Regions from separate parts of the Homo sapiens genome. Here region 2 is linked to region 1. The links are contacts of gene promoters, found by promoter capture Hi-C in human tissues and cell types (Jung and others, 2019). All regions are on one chromosome and are shown on one strand. The core of a region is centred on a gene start or on the middle of the fragment in contact, and the rest is flanking DNA. Distances in the headings are between cores, read along the strand shown. Region 1 holds the start of TACR2 (tachykinin receptor 2). Region 2 overlaps SUPV3L1 (Suv3 like RNA helicase).

Region 1 (6,208 bases), core at 2,821-5,320:
CCTCCGCCTCCCGCATTCAAGTGATTCTCCTGCCTCAGCCTCCCGAGTAGCTGGGATTACAGGCACTTGCCACTGTACCTGGCTAATTTTTGTATTTTTAGTAGAGACAGGGTTTCACCATGTTGGCCAGGCTGGTCTCGAACTCCTGACTTCAGGTGATCCACCCACCTCAGCCTCCCAAAGTGCTGGGATTACAGGTGTGAGCCACCATACCCAGCCTCACTCCTCTTCTCTAATTGAGGAAATAGATAGGGGCTCCTGGGTCTTTGAATTTCATGGGCCAATATAATATTAAAAACCTATTGAGGGGGCCGGGCATGGTGGCTTACGCCTGTAATCCCACCACTTTGGGAGACTGAAGCAGGCAGATCACCTGAAGTCAGGAGTTCAAGACCAGCCTGGCCAACATGGTGAAACCTCGTCTCTACTGAAAATATAAAAATTAGCTGGGCATGGGGGTGGGCGCCTGTAATCCCAGCTACTCGGGAGGCTGAGGCAGGAGAATCGCTTGAACCTGGGAGGTGGAGGGTACAGTGAGCCAAGATTGTGCCACTGCACTCCAGCCTGGGCAACACAGTGAGACTCTGTCTCAAAAACAAACAAACAAAACAAAAACAACAACAACAACAACAAAAACCCTATTGAGGGAACCATACCGGTCACTGACTTTTTATTCCACCAAGTAAGGAATTTTAAAGAAAAAGCAAAACCAGGTCAACAACTACCATCCGCCATCCCCATTATTTCATGAAAGAACTCAAACAGCAGGAAGGGCATGGTCTCGGAATGAAGGACAGTCCATGGAACCAGATTCATCTAGCAGAATGAAAAGTGTTCTTCTTCTTGTCCTCATTTGGCCCCACCAGGAGCTCCCGCAAATACAGATGTGATCCTTCCTCCTGTCTCTGGGATGATCACTGGAGCAGCGGCTCAGGGTCAGACCCACCACCGGGCACAGGACTGGAGCCTTTCAGCAGAGGGGCTGACCCTTTGCCAACCCCACGTCCTCCTCTCACTTCGGCCACCTCCTGGCACCCCCAGCATTGCCCTGGTGACAGGGTGACCCTCAGCGCTAGTGTCCCGCGATGCTGTCTGTGACCTCTGAAGCTAGGGCCCAGAGCAGCCTCCCAAACAGAGATAGGCCACTCTCAAGAGCATCCCCCAGGCGCTGATAGCAACGCCTCATCCACAGTGCTTTCTGGAGCCGCCTTTCCTCTCCCACCCACTTCTCTCACACACCACAGCTCTCCCACCTTTTCTTCCTCAAACTCCCTGGAAGATCATTCCTCTCCCAACTCTGGTCTTTAAGCCTCTAGCCCAGAGGTCACAATTACACCAACCAGCAAGGCACAGTTGCCAGCGCACGCCCGTCTGAAGGAGTGGCTGCTGTCTAGCTGTGTGGACGTTGCCCTGCGCTTCCCAGGCCCCCTTCAAGCTGCCGGGCAGGCATATAGTACCAGCACCATGTTTAGCGTCCCCGACTGCAGGCCTCGCCTCAACTGCCTTGACAACAATCACATGATTTCTTGGGGTGGCCCACGTCCAGTGACCAATGTGGAAATATAAAGGCCTGGTTAACTTTGCCCCACACGGGGCAACTCTGAAGCTATCCCAGTTCCAATTACCCATGGGGTTACCAAGGCTATTGTAGGCCTGGACCACAGCACGATGCCGTGCTTCAGCCACACTTGCTTCCTGCCTTGTCTGCTGCCCCAAGTGTTGACCCCAGTGGTAGCTCCCTGAGAAACAGCTGGTGTGTTTCTTACACAGCAGGGTCTGCTTCCTGGATGCACGCAACTGGCACCATCAGCTCAGGTGTGCGATTACAGGTGTGAGCCACCGTGCCCGGCATTTTTTTTTCTCCTTTAAAAGGACTGGCCTTCCAGGCGCAGTGGCTCATGCCTGTAATCCCAGCACTTTGGGAGGCTGAGGCAGGTGGATCACCTGAGGTCAGGAGTTCAAGACCACCCTGACCAACATGGTGAAACCCTGTCTACTAAAAAAATACAAAAATTAGCCAGGTGTGGTGGCATACACCTGTAATCCCAGCTACTTAGGAGGCTGAGGCAGGAGAATCGCTTGAACCCAGGAGGCGGAGGTTGCAGTGAGCCAAGATCGTGCCATTGCACTCCAGCCTGGGCGACACTGTGAGACTCCATCTAAAATAATAAAATAAAATAAGGACTGGCCTTCGGGATCGCTGTCTAGCTATGGACTCAGAAGGCCAGTGCCAAGCAGCAAAGCTGATCAGGAACCCCTTCATCCTGGGTGGCCCGCATCTTCCCCTTTCACGAGGCTTCAAACCATAGCACATAGTTGGAAGGCTGCAAGAGCAGATAATTTAAGGGGAAAATAAAAACTCAGATGTACAAGCTCCAAAACATAATCCCCTTTACATAAACAGTGGAGGTGGCGGGATGTTGTGGGGAGGAAGGAACTTGAACTCTGCTGGGCTTCTGTGACTGGTGACAGGCGCTCAGGCATCCCAGCCCTGCACTGGGTTTGCACCTGAAGCTCAACAAATTCCCACTGCCTGGGAGCAGGAGGACAGCAAAAAGAGCAGGCTGTCTTGGGCTTCCATTCTTATTTCTACACATTCTGCTCTTTAGGACCCTGGCCAGATGGGCATGAGACAGAAGCAAACCCTAAAGTACTGCTACTGTTGCCGCCACCAACAGAGATCAAAGGCAGAGACCCTTCTGCTAGGGTCCAAAGTCCAAACAGGCCACTCCAGAGAGGAAACAGGCACACAGGCACACACCCACGGGAGGAGTAGGGGCCCAGGAAGCACTCCCTCCCCAAGGGCAAGGATGGGGTTCCCATTCGACCCAGCACATGCTCCTCACATCTGCACAGCAGGGAGACCAAACAATAGATACAATTTCAGTGTTGATTGTCGATGAACTTACCCAGAAGTTCATAATCAGAAAAATCCATAAAGAAGCTCTTTCAATTTCAGCATGTTTAAGTTTCATGACTTATGGTTTAGTGTTGTTTTTATATTGGATTCCATGGGTGGCATAATCTTTTCAGCACTAGAGACCTTTAAAGGTCTTTCTCAGCTCACCCCGGGAGACAAGGGCTGGGTGTCAGGAAAGTGACACACAGGGAGAAGCAGAAAATGGACTGGGAGTGTGGGGGCCGAGGCCCAGCCACGAGAAACCCAGGCGGTGCAAGGCAGAGCCCTGGGAGCACAGAGGCTGCTGTGCCGTGGGTTGCTGGTGAATGAGAAGCCTCCTCTGCTTTAATGAAGAACATGCCCCCCCGACTCCCGCTAATCCTGCCCTGCCTTCATGGTCCACACACCACAGGTGTGCACAGGTTCATGCGTGTGTGTGAGCTTAACACGTCAGCCGCACATACAGTTGCTCAGAAACATCTTCACTGCTTCACACACGTGCACACAGTCAATGACCAGGAGCAGGGATCTTGGGGCAAACCTAGAGCAGCTTCTCAGGAGTTAAAACTCCAGCTTTGCTGTGGTTCCCGGAAGAGCCCTGACTTTGTCCTAAGACAGTGGTTCTCAAAGTGAAGTGCTGGCTCCAGCAGCATCAGTATCACCTGGGAACTCGCTGGAAACGCTCCGGGTTCTGGCTTCTCCTCCTAGAGCGCCCAGAGCTGTGGGGTCCTCCCTTCGGGCCAGAAACTCCAATCATAGTTTTTATGTACCAACCCCTGTGCTAAGTAGACTTTGTGCACATTATCTCCATTTAAAATTCACAAATGTACTGTAAGATGCACACCATTTTTCTATATTTTTCAGATGGGGTAGACAGAGCTCAGAAAGGTTAAGAGACTTGCCTGGAGTCACCAAACCAGGCTCGAACTCCTTCTGTATTCAGAATCACTCTTCAGACGTAGCTCCTGTCCTGGGCTGAAAGTCAACATCCGCCGAGAGCTGGGCCCTCTGTACCAGCCCCATCTCCCCCAAGTCTCTCCCTGCCTCTGCAGCCAGTCCTAAATCTTTCAAGAGACAAGGCCAAGCAGGGGGTGGGACCAGGGGCGGGAGCCAAAGCCCCCCCTCGTGAGCAGGCAGCACCTCTGCCAAGGCCCCCACTGGCCCTGCCCCAGAGAACGGCAGGGAAGCTGCAGCGAGGGCTGGCAGCTGGCAGAGCCCTGAGCACCCAGCACCCAGCCCGGCTTGCAGCCCAAAGCCTGGAGAGAGGCTGCTGCGCCATTGACCTGTGGACTCCAGAGACTCCCGCTGTGCATTCCTCTGATCTGGAAGGTTTCCTGAATTACGTGACGAGAAACCTGGGTTCGAGTCCTAACTTGTCACCAACTTCCTGAGTGACCTGGGCTGGTCCCGTCCCCTCTTGGAATCTCTGTCTTCCATCTCTTCAGCGAAGGGGTTGATTTATAAGGGTGTTTTCTGCTCTGACACTGTGATTTGAATTCTGTGTTTCCACATGATATTCGAGAAGTCTGGCCGGAAGGATGGAATCTGAAATGACAATGGTTCTGGACTGGGCTTTGTGCTCAGCCCAGCTCATCTTTGCCTGAGACCTAGGAGTGGCCCCAGGCTCTCCTGATGTGCCACCACGCTTGGCATCTGCTCCTCTCCCTGCCCCCATATTCCCATGCTCTGAAGGGGAGTTCTCTTTCATAGCAAATCCGAGAGGAGCCGAGGAGCCAGGTCCTTTGTTCCAGACCCAGAAGCAGCCATGGGGACCTGTGACATTGTGACTGAAGCCAATATCTCATCTGGCCCTGAGAGCAACACCACGGGCATCACAGCCTTCTCCATGCCCAGCTGGCAACTGGCACTGTGGGCCACAGCCTACCTGGCCCTGGTGCTGGTGGCCGTGACGGGTAATGCCATCGTCATCTGGATCATCCTGGCCCATCGGAGGATGCGCACAGTCACCAACTACTTCATCGTCAATCTGGCGCTGGCTGACCTCTGCATGGCTGCCTTCAATGCCGCCTTCAACTTTGTCTATGCCAGCCACAACATCTGGTACTTTGGCCGTGCCTTCTGCTACTTCCAGAACCTCTTCCCCATCACAGCCATGTTTGTCAGCATCTACTCCATGACCGCCATTGCTGCCGACAGGCAAGAGGGTCCTTGGGGAAGCTGGGGGGAGCCTCCCCACTGAGCCGGGGCTCAGATAAGGGTGGTGACATGCCTGTGATTACACAGCAAGTTTGGGTAGAACCATGGGAATGGCTTCCCAAATCTGGTCATGGTCCAAAACTATGAATCTGGAAGGCAGGGGGACTGTGGAGCTGAAGAAGGTAGACTGAGGGTTAGACACAGAGAAGGACTTTGCACTAGATGCACTAGACAGGTTGTTCAAGTCTGTAGGGGAAGTGGGCAATGTTTTAGCGACCTTCTGAAGTGTTCTTTCCTGGAGTTGATCTTTGTTTTGTTGTCTTTATTTCACTCCAAAGATATGTCTTATACAGTTTTTTTTTTATTATTCCGGATAGATTACACGAGGGGAAAATGTTAAGTTTGCTTGCAGTTACAATCTAATAGGGCCAATTATTTTCCCAACGCTGCTCAGGGCTGAGCTTCAGGCTAATGTTGGATGCTTGATCTTGCCCTGAGATGGGCTTCCAGTGTGGCTTTCTTGTGGCCGTCCACGGGCATGTCCATGCCCAGAGGGAAATGGTGGGCCGAGGTGCCTGGGCCGGGGTTCCAAGGCATCAGTGTGCTGTGTGGCTGTGGGAGAGTCACCCAGCGGGCTCTCTGCAGGTCGGCTGATACTATGATATCAGCAGATGGCAGCAGTGCGGGGAATGGCTAGAAGGCGTGGGCCTGGGTTGGGAGAGAGGGAGACAGGGGAAAGGGAGCTGGGCTAACAGGAGGGCCCCTGCCGCTCAAGCTGCCCTCTGCTCACAGGTACATGGCCATCGTCCACCCCTTCCAGCCTCGGCTTTCAGCTCCCAGCACCAAGGCGGTTATTGCTGGCATCTGGCTGGTGGCTCTCGCCCTGGCCTCCCCTCAGTGCTTCTACTCCACCGTCACCATGGACCAGGGTGCCACCAAGTGCGTGGTGGCCTGGCCCGAAGACAGCGGGGGCAAGACGCTCCTCCTGTAAGGCCTCTGGGGGATTGTGGAGGGCAACAGTGTGTGTGTGTGAGTCTGTGTGTGTGTGTGTACACACGCGTGCATGCATCCATGTCCATGCATGTGTGGTGTGCATGCATGGGTGTACACATGAGTGAGTGTACACGGGATTGTGTGAATATACCTATATGC
Region 2 (6,928 bases), core at 396-2,895, 200 kb after region 1:
AAACATTTAGGAGGTCAGCGACGCAACACAGACTGTGACATGAGTCTAACTGTGTTGCAAGTGTGTGAAATAGCCTCACTGAAGGGGAAGGGGAGGGAAAATATGCTGACCTAAGAAACTTTGGAAATTAATAGAGTAAGACTACAAGTAAAAGGAAGTGTATGTAGCACTGTATTCTGATTGATAAAGTTGCTTCCTGCAAGAGCACGCTTAACAATTCTGAAACCACTACACAAGAATACTGGAATTGAACAATTAAGTACATGGATGGTGGATGGCGGGAGGGAGGTTTCTTGCTGCTGGAGTGAGAGGCTTCAAGCAGGGGAGAAGGCTAGAATGATCCATGTCACTGGATTAGAATTGAGGACATCAGTATACACTCATGTTTAGCTTGATATTCATATAGATGACTATACATATATGTTTATATAAAGATTTGAAGACGTGTATATAGCTTAGTATACACGTGCATATGTCCTTGCTTTGTCAGCTGAGAAACACTAGAAGTAATGACACCCAGTAGCAACAAGCACACCTAGTGCCCAGATCAAAGAACCAGGTCTATACAAGATGGTCCTGGCGCATCTTGTAGTGCCAGAAAGGAAGGAACTAATCAACAAAACAAAAACCAAATGATACGGATGTGTCAAAGGAACACAGGAGCCAACTGAAAGTGAAAAAGTTCCTAATAACCAAAGCTAGAAAACATTGATAGGAGTGTTAAAAAAAAGAAAGAAAGAAAAAATTGGGCAAGATAAAGTATGATTGGATTATAACCCAAAGTCTACATTTCCATTAGCCCATACTGATGTTAACAAATAATTGTATAAATATATAAGTGAGGGAGAAAGGACCAATCTCCCATGCAGAAGAATGAACACAGATACTCCACCCTCAAAGAGGTGGAGCACAGTATACACAGTGATTCTTTCCAGACAGTTCAGTATGGAAAATGAGAAAAGGGTAACATGACAGTGAAGAAACCTGACACGTTGTCCTCAGGCATGTGATGAAGGTCAACTTCAGCAGGGTGAAGTCATGTTGACAGTACAGATCCGTGATATGAGGTGATAAGACCAGCACCTTACCTCTGGGCTCTTTCTCCCAAAACCCAAACCCTAGTCTAATCATAAGAAAAACATCAGACAAATCCCAACTGATGAATAGTCTATAGAATACGTGATTAGTACTTAAAGCTGTTGAGATCATCTACAGCAAGTCTGAGAAACTGTCACAGCCAAGAGGAGCTTAAGGAGACGACTAAATGTCATGTGGTGTCTTGGATGGGATCCAAAAGAGAAGAAGGCCACTGGGTAAAAACTAAGGAGATCTAAAAACCTGTGGCCTTTAGTTAATAATAATGTATCAGTCTTGGTTCATTAATTATAACAAACGTACCATACTAATGTAAGATGTTAATGGGGGAAATGTAAGATGTTAATAGGGGAAATGTGTTGGGTATATGGGAATTCTTTGTATTATCTTTGCAATTTTTCTGCAAATCTAAAACTATCCTAACTTTTTTTTTTTAAGTTTATGTTTAAAAAACCTTACAGGCCAGGCGTGGTGGCTCACGCCTGTAATCCCAGCACTTTGGGAGGCCAAGCTGGGTGGACCTCCTGAGGTCAGAAGTTTGAGACCAGCCTGGCTAACGTGGCGAAACCTCATCTCTAATAAAAATACAAAAATTAGCTGGCTGTGGTGGTGTGCACCTGTAGTCCCAGCTACTCTGGAGGCTGAGGCAGGAGAATTGCTTGAACCCAGGAGGCGGAGGTTGCAGTGAGCTGAGATCACACCATTGCACTCTAGCATGGGCAACAAGAGCAAAACTCCATCTCAAAAACAAACAAACAAAAAACCTTACAGATACTGCCTGGCATGTTGGCTCATGCTAGCACTTTGGGATCACCTGAGGTCAGGAGTTCGAGACCAGCCTGGCCAACATGGTGAGACCCAGTCTCTATTAAAAATACAAAAATTAGCTGGGTGTGGTGGTGCACGCCTGTAATCCCAGCTACTCAGGAGGCTGAGGCAGGAGAATTGCTTGAACTTGGGAAGCAGAGGTTGTTTTCTGTTTATTTGTATATTTGTTTGTTTTTTGAGATGGAGTCTCACTCTGTCGCCCAGGCTGGAGTGCAGTGGCACAATCTCGGCTCACTGCAACCTCCGCCTCCTGGGTTCAAGGGATTCTCCTGCCTCAGCCTCCTGAGCAGCTGGGACTACAGGCACGCGCCACCATGCCCAGCTAATTTTTATATTTTTAGTAGAGACTGGGTTTCACCATATTGGCCAGGCTGGTCTAGAACTCCTGACCTCATGATTCACTCCCTCCCACCCCACTGGCCTCCCAAAGTGCTGGGATTACAGGCGTGAGCCACTGCACCTGGCCTTGGGTGGCAGAGGTTGTATGACCAGAGTTCATGCCACAGCACTCCAGCCTGGGCAACAGAATGAGACTCTGACTCAAAAAATAAAATAAAGTAAAATAAACCTTACAGATACTGACATTTAGGGAATCATTTAAAAAGCCAGCTTATCATCCAATCAACCTGCATAAAAACTGAAAAGACATTAGGCCTATAAACAGAGCTCTCCATTAGCTTATTTCTTCACTTTTAAACATAGACACAGGCAAGGATCGCTAGACACATGAGACAAGTTTCCAACAATAAAGGTAGAAATCAAACCAAGCTGGGAAAAAAAAAAGGAATTAGAATAACGTAAGAAACAGAAGAAAACTTAAAAATTACTTTATCTAGAGATACTATAGGTGGAGGTTTATCTATTTTTTTGAGACAGGGTCTGGTACTGTCACCCAGGCTGGAGTGCAGTGGTGCCATCTCAGCTCACTGCAACCTCCGCCTCCTGGGCTCAAGTGATCCTCCCACCTCAGCCTCTCAGGTAGCTGGGACTACAGGCGCACATCAACATGCCGGGCTAATTTTTGCTTTTTTTGTAGAGACAGGGTTTTGCCATGTTGCACAGGCTGGTCTTGAACTTCTGAGCTCAAGCGATCTGTCCGTCTCAGCCTCCCAAAATGTTGGGATTACAGGCGTGAGCCACTGCACCCAGCCAGGTTTATGTATTTTAAAGCTGTGAAACAGGGGAGGGAAATCTCAGCATGACTCCCTTATCCATTTGCCTGTCCCATAGCAAATCTCTACTTTTCATTACATCCTAATAGGTTTGAGTTAGACACACACAGAATGACTGCATCATAATTACAGACTCCCAGTTTTGAGTCATAAGAGACTCTAATTTGTGATGATAGTTTTATATATTTGTGATTTACAGTCACTTTTCAAGAGTTTCATTTTGCAGATTTACACTCTTCCATATATGTAACATACAAAACATTACAAGTCACTGGATATTATTCCCAGTCATTTTCTAATCACATTTTATTAAATTATCAGGTCTGTATAGTGATAGGTTGAGATTAGTCTCTAAGCCTTAGTCCACATCCCATGTTTAAGTTCAGTGGAATCCATAATAATCCACGGAGGGCTCTCAGGTGAGTACTTCACAATCCGTGAGAAGACTGCAAGGACAGGAAAGAGCTGTCTCTCACAAAGAGTGACATGACCATAGTGAAATGGAAATGAATGCCTGGAATTTAGCTGGCCCTGAAGCCCACAAAGAAAGATAAGTGACATGACAAGCTTGTTGCAGAGAAGGAAGACTAGGCTGCTTTCTTGGTGACAATTTTAGGTACACTGAAGATAATTCTCCAGGGCCACTCCAATTCTATTTTTCCTGTTTTGCTTCACATGCTGCCATCTTTTCTTTAGTCTGTCTCTTCTTCTAACCACAGTTCCCTCCTTTCCCTCCAAAGGAAGGAGACGTGAAAGGGCAAACTATCACTATAAATGCTCGTTAGCTGAATGTTCAAGCAGCCCTTCCTTTACAGGACCTCCCACCCCCACCTCTCTTATTTGAGGCTTTATTTATTTACTTATTTAGAGACAGGGTCTCGCTCTGTTGTCCAAGCTGGAATGCAGTGGCATGATCACTGCTCACTGCAGCTTCAACACGCTGGGCTCAAGTGATCCTTCCACCAGAGCCTCCCAAGGAGCTGTACTACTGGTGAATGCCACCATATCCGGCTAATTTTTTAAATTTTTTGTAGAGATGGGGTCTCACTGTGTTGCCCAAGCTGGTCTCAAACTCCTGGCCTCAAGCAATCTTCCTGCCTTGGTCTCTCAAAGTGCTGGGATTACAGGTATGAGCCACTGCACCCAGCCACTTCTTTATTTAACATATTCAGGACTTTTCACTTGCCTTAGTTTTTAAGTGTCTTGCCTAAGTCCTTTCTCTGACTTAACAACTCTGGCCCCCAAACTGGAGAAAATGGGAGAGTTAACAGCATTCTAAGTGATGCACCCCATCACTTACATACGATGGGACCAAATCCACTATTTGGTTCAGTTCATAGGTATTTCTTGTAACCATCTGGACAAGAATGATTATGTCTGCTATGGTGTAAGTTACAGGGGTAAGCAAATTCTAGAAGCTGCAGTTGCCCCACTGCAGAATATCAAGAGATAAGCCCTTCCAGGCATTTCACTAGTTTATCCATAAGCAAGGAGGAAATAGAGTCAGTGCCACCCACTCAGCCTTTACTCCCATGAAGGCAAAGGTCAGAATGAAGATTGTCATCTCAGTTAAATGTTACCTCTGAACCACCAAAGAAAAAAGCAGAGAGAGGTTGCAGATCTGGCTACGTTCCCTCACCCAATTTGAGTCAAATCATATTTAATCCCTACCAGGAGGTCAGCCCCAATTCAATAGTTGCTCAAGAAATTAGTTCAGTTGTCAGAATAATCTGAGAGCTCAATTCACAGCCCAGACTGGACCCAAACCTTCAGGTTCATTTATATAATAAAATGCTTCCTGTGTGCCAGGCCCTGTGCTAAATGGCACGTGATCACACTTAACCTCCCAAACAACTCTAAGTGAGCATACTGACCATTTTCTTCAGATGTGAGATCAAGCCCAGAGATGGCAAGGCTGCTAAGCTGTGATATGAAAAGGAACCACATCTGTCTAACTCCAAAGCTTCCATCTTTAAACCCCTTTTAGCTAGGTTTCTGAACAGGGTTGAAAACTTCGTTGAACAAGTGTAGGCTGGCCTTTGGACAAGGGAAGACCACCCTACCTAAAACAGCCCTTCCCTGCCACTCAGCATCACTCTTTCCTTATTCTTTCTAGCATTCATCTCTAAAATTACACCCATTCATCTCACAAAGAATGATTTTGCTTCTGCTATATTCCAGATACTGTGGATGCAGTAGTGAAATAGACTACAATCTCTGCCCTCACCGATCTGACAGGATTTATTTGTTAACCTGTTCCTGTCTCTCCTACCAAATATGAGATCCATGAGGGTAGAAGATTGTCAGTCTTGCTTACTGCATATTTCCAGCACCTAAATAGCCTCTGGTATATGGGTACAACAGACAGCAATGTTTGTCAAAGAACTGCATCCATGACATCCTCAGCATGGCATAGGAAACTGGTCAAACAATTCACCAAAGTGATTTTATTCCCATGCAGAGTTCCTTATAGTGCACTGTCTTAGTACTATTCTACAAATGGCCATTATATAAAGACTTAAATTAAACCTCCATGATATCCTAGTATTTTCTAAATGTTGAAAAAAAAAAAAACAAGTTTAGTCATCAAGAGAGATTTTTCTGTGCAAAAAAAGAAAAAACAAACAAACACACACACAAACACACACACACACCAAAAATCCCCCAGTACCAGATAGCCACAATACTAGAGGAGGGAGTAAATGCATATGAGGAAAAAGGATTCAAAATAAATTTTTATTTGCAAAATTAAATAAAAAAAAAAAAACAGGAACAGAAAACTAGTCCGAATCAGGTTCCTTCTTCTTTCTTCTCGTCCCTTTTGGATGAGTCCCAGACTCTGTTTTTTCTTTGTTGTGTTCAGTTTGTTGTGTCATCCACTCTTTTTCTAGCTGTTTCAGCATGTCTGGAGTGAGGAGTCCTTGCTGCACCAATCTGGAAGCAAGGGACAGCTCTCCTGCATCGGGGCTGGGTGGCTCAGTAGCTTTACTCCCTAGAGCTTTGGTGCCGCGTGTCCTTCTAGCTTGGCTCTTTAAGGTTCCTGACAATCGTGACTGGCTCCCTGATGGAAAGCCCTCCAAATTCAACAGCTTATGCGTCTCAGACATTTTAATCAATTTAGTGATATTGTGCACACCATCTTGGATAATACCATCTAGTTCTTTCTGGAGATCTCGAATAAGGCTGGCATCTGGAAACATATCCATAAATCGGTAGCTGGGAAAAAGACACATTAGCATTATAGCAACAGCTCTTATCGCAGTCACTGGACAACTCTCAATGGCACACCTACATCATGACATTGATAAATTCTAAATGTTCTTTTTGCAAACTCTCTTCAGTGCCTTTGCTCAACCTTGATTTCTGCCCCCACATATCGGAGGAATATGTCATCCTGAGGGTGGGTCAGCACTATACCTCAATAGACTCTGATATACTCCTGGAGAGGGACATGCCCCTCCTTTGAGAATCACTGGCCTAGAACAGGACTTCTCAAATGATAATGTACAAGTGAATCACCCAGGGATCTTGTTAAAATGCAGAATCTGATCAAGTCAGGCATGGGCCTGATACTCCTTAGTTCTAACAAGCTCCCAGGTGATACCAATGCTTTTGGTCCAAGGACCATCCTTTGACCAGCAGGAGTCCAGTGGACCTTCCTTCTCACCTAGCCATCTTAACTAGAATTGCAAGAACTCAAGTCATTTTTGGAATGGGAAACCATTCCATCAGTTGAATTGCCTTTATGGACAATAGACATAATATAGAGCATCTTGCAAATATGTCCATAATTTGAAATAGAAAAACAAATTCATAAAACCTTTAATTTGTCC

What was found. The method cuts DNA at HindIII sites, captures the fragments that hold promoters and counts their contacts. A contact is called where the count stands out against the background at its distance.
Region 2: a contact is called between a fragment that was not itself captured here and the fragment with the promoter of TACR2 in region 1, in 1 of the 25 tissues and cell types used here (lymphoblastoid cells).

Annotation. Positions count from the first base shown.
Region 1 is chr10:69,414,780-69,420,987 of GRCh38, reverse strand. TACR2 (tachykinin receptor 2) reads left to right here and starts at 4,070. Exons shown (of 5, transcript NM_001057.3): 1 at 4,070-5,056; 2 at 5,849-6,043. The coding sequence starts at 4,665. RefSeq lists enhancers at 2,521-2,815, 3,566-4,300. The HindIII fragment of the contact is 13,628 bases long and covers 1-6,208 here.
Region 2 is chr10:69,207,983-69,214,910 of GRCh38, reverse strand. SUPV3L1 (Suv3 like RNA helicase) reads right to left here. Exons shown (of 15, transcript NM_003171.5): 15 at 5,818-6,311. The coding sequence ends at 5,876. Among named protein-coding and RNA genes, the nearest start is that of HKDC1, 8.9 kb to the left of the region's middle. The HindIII fragment of the contact is 5,430 bases long and covers 1-4,360 here.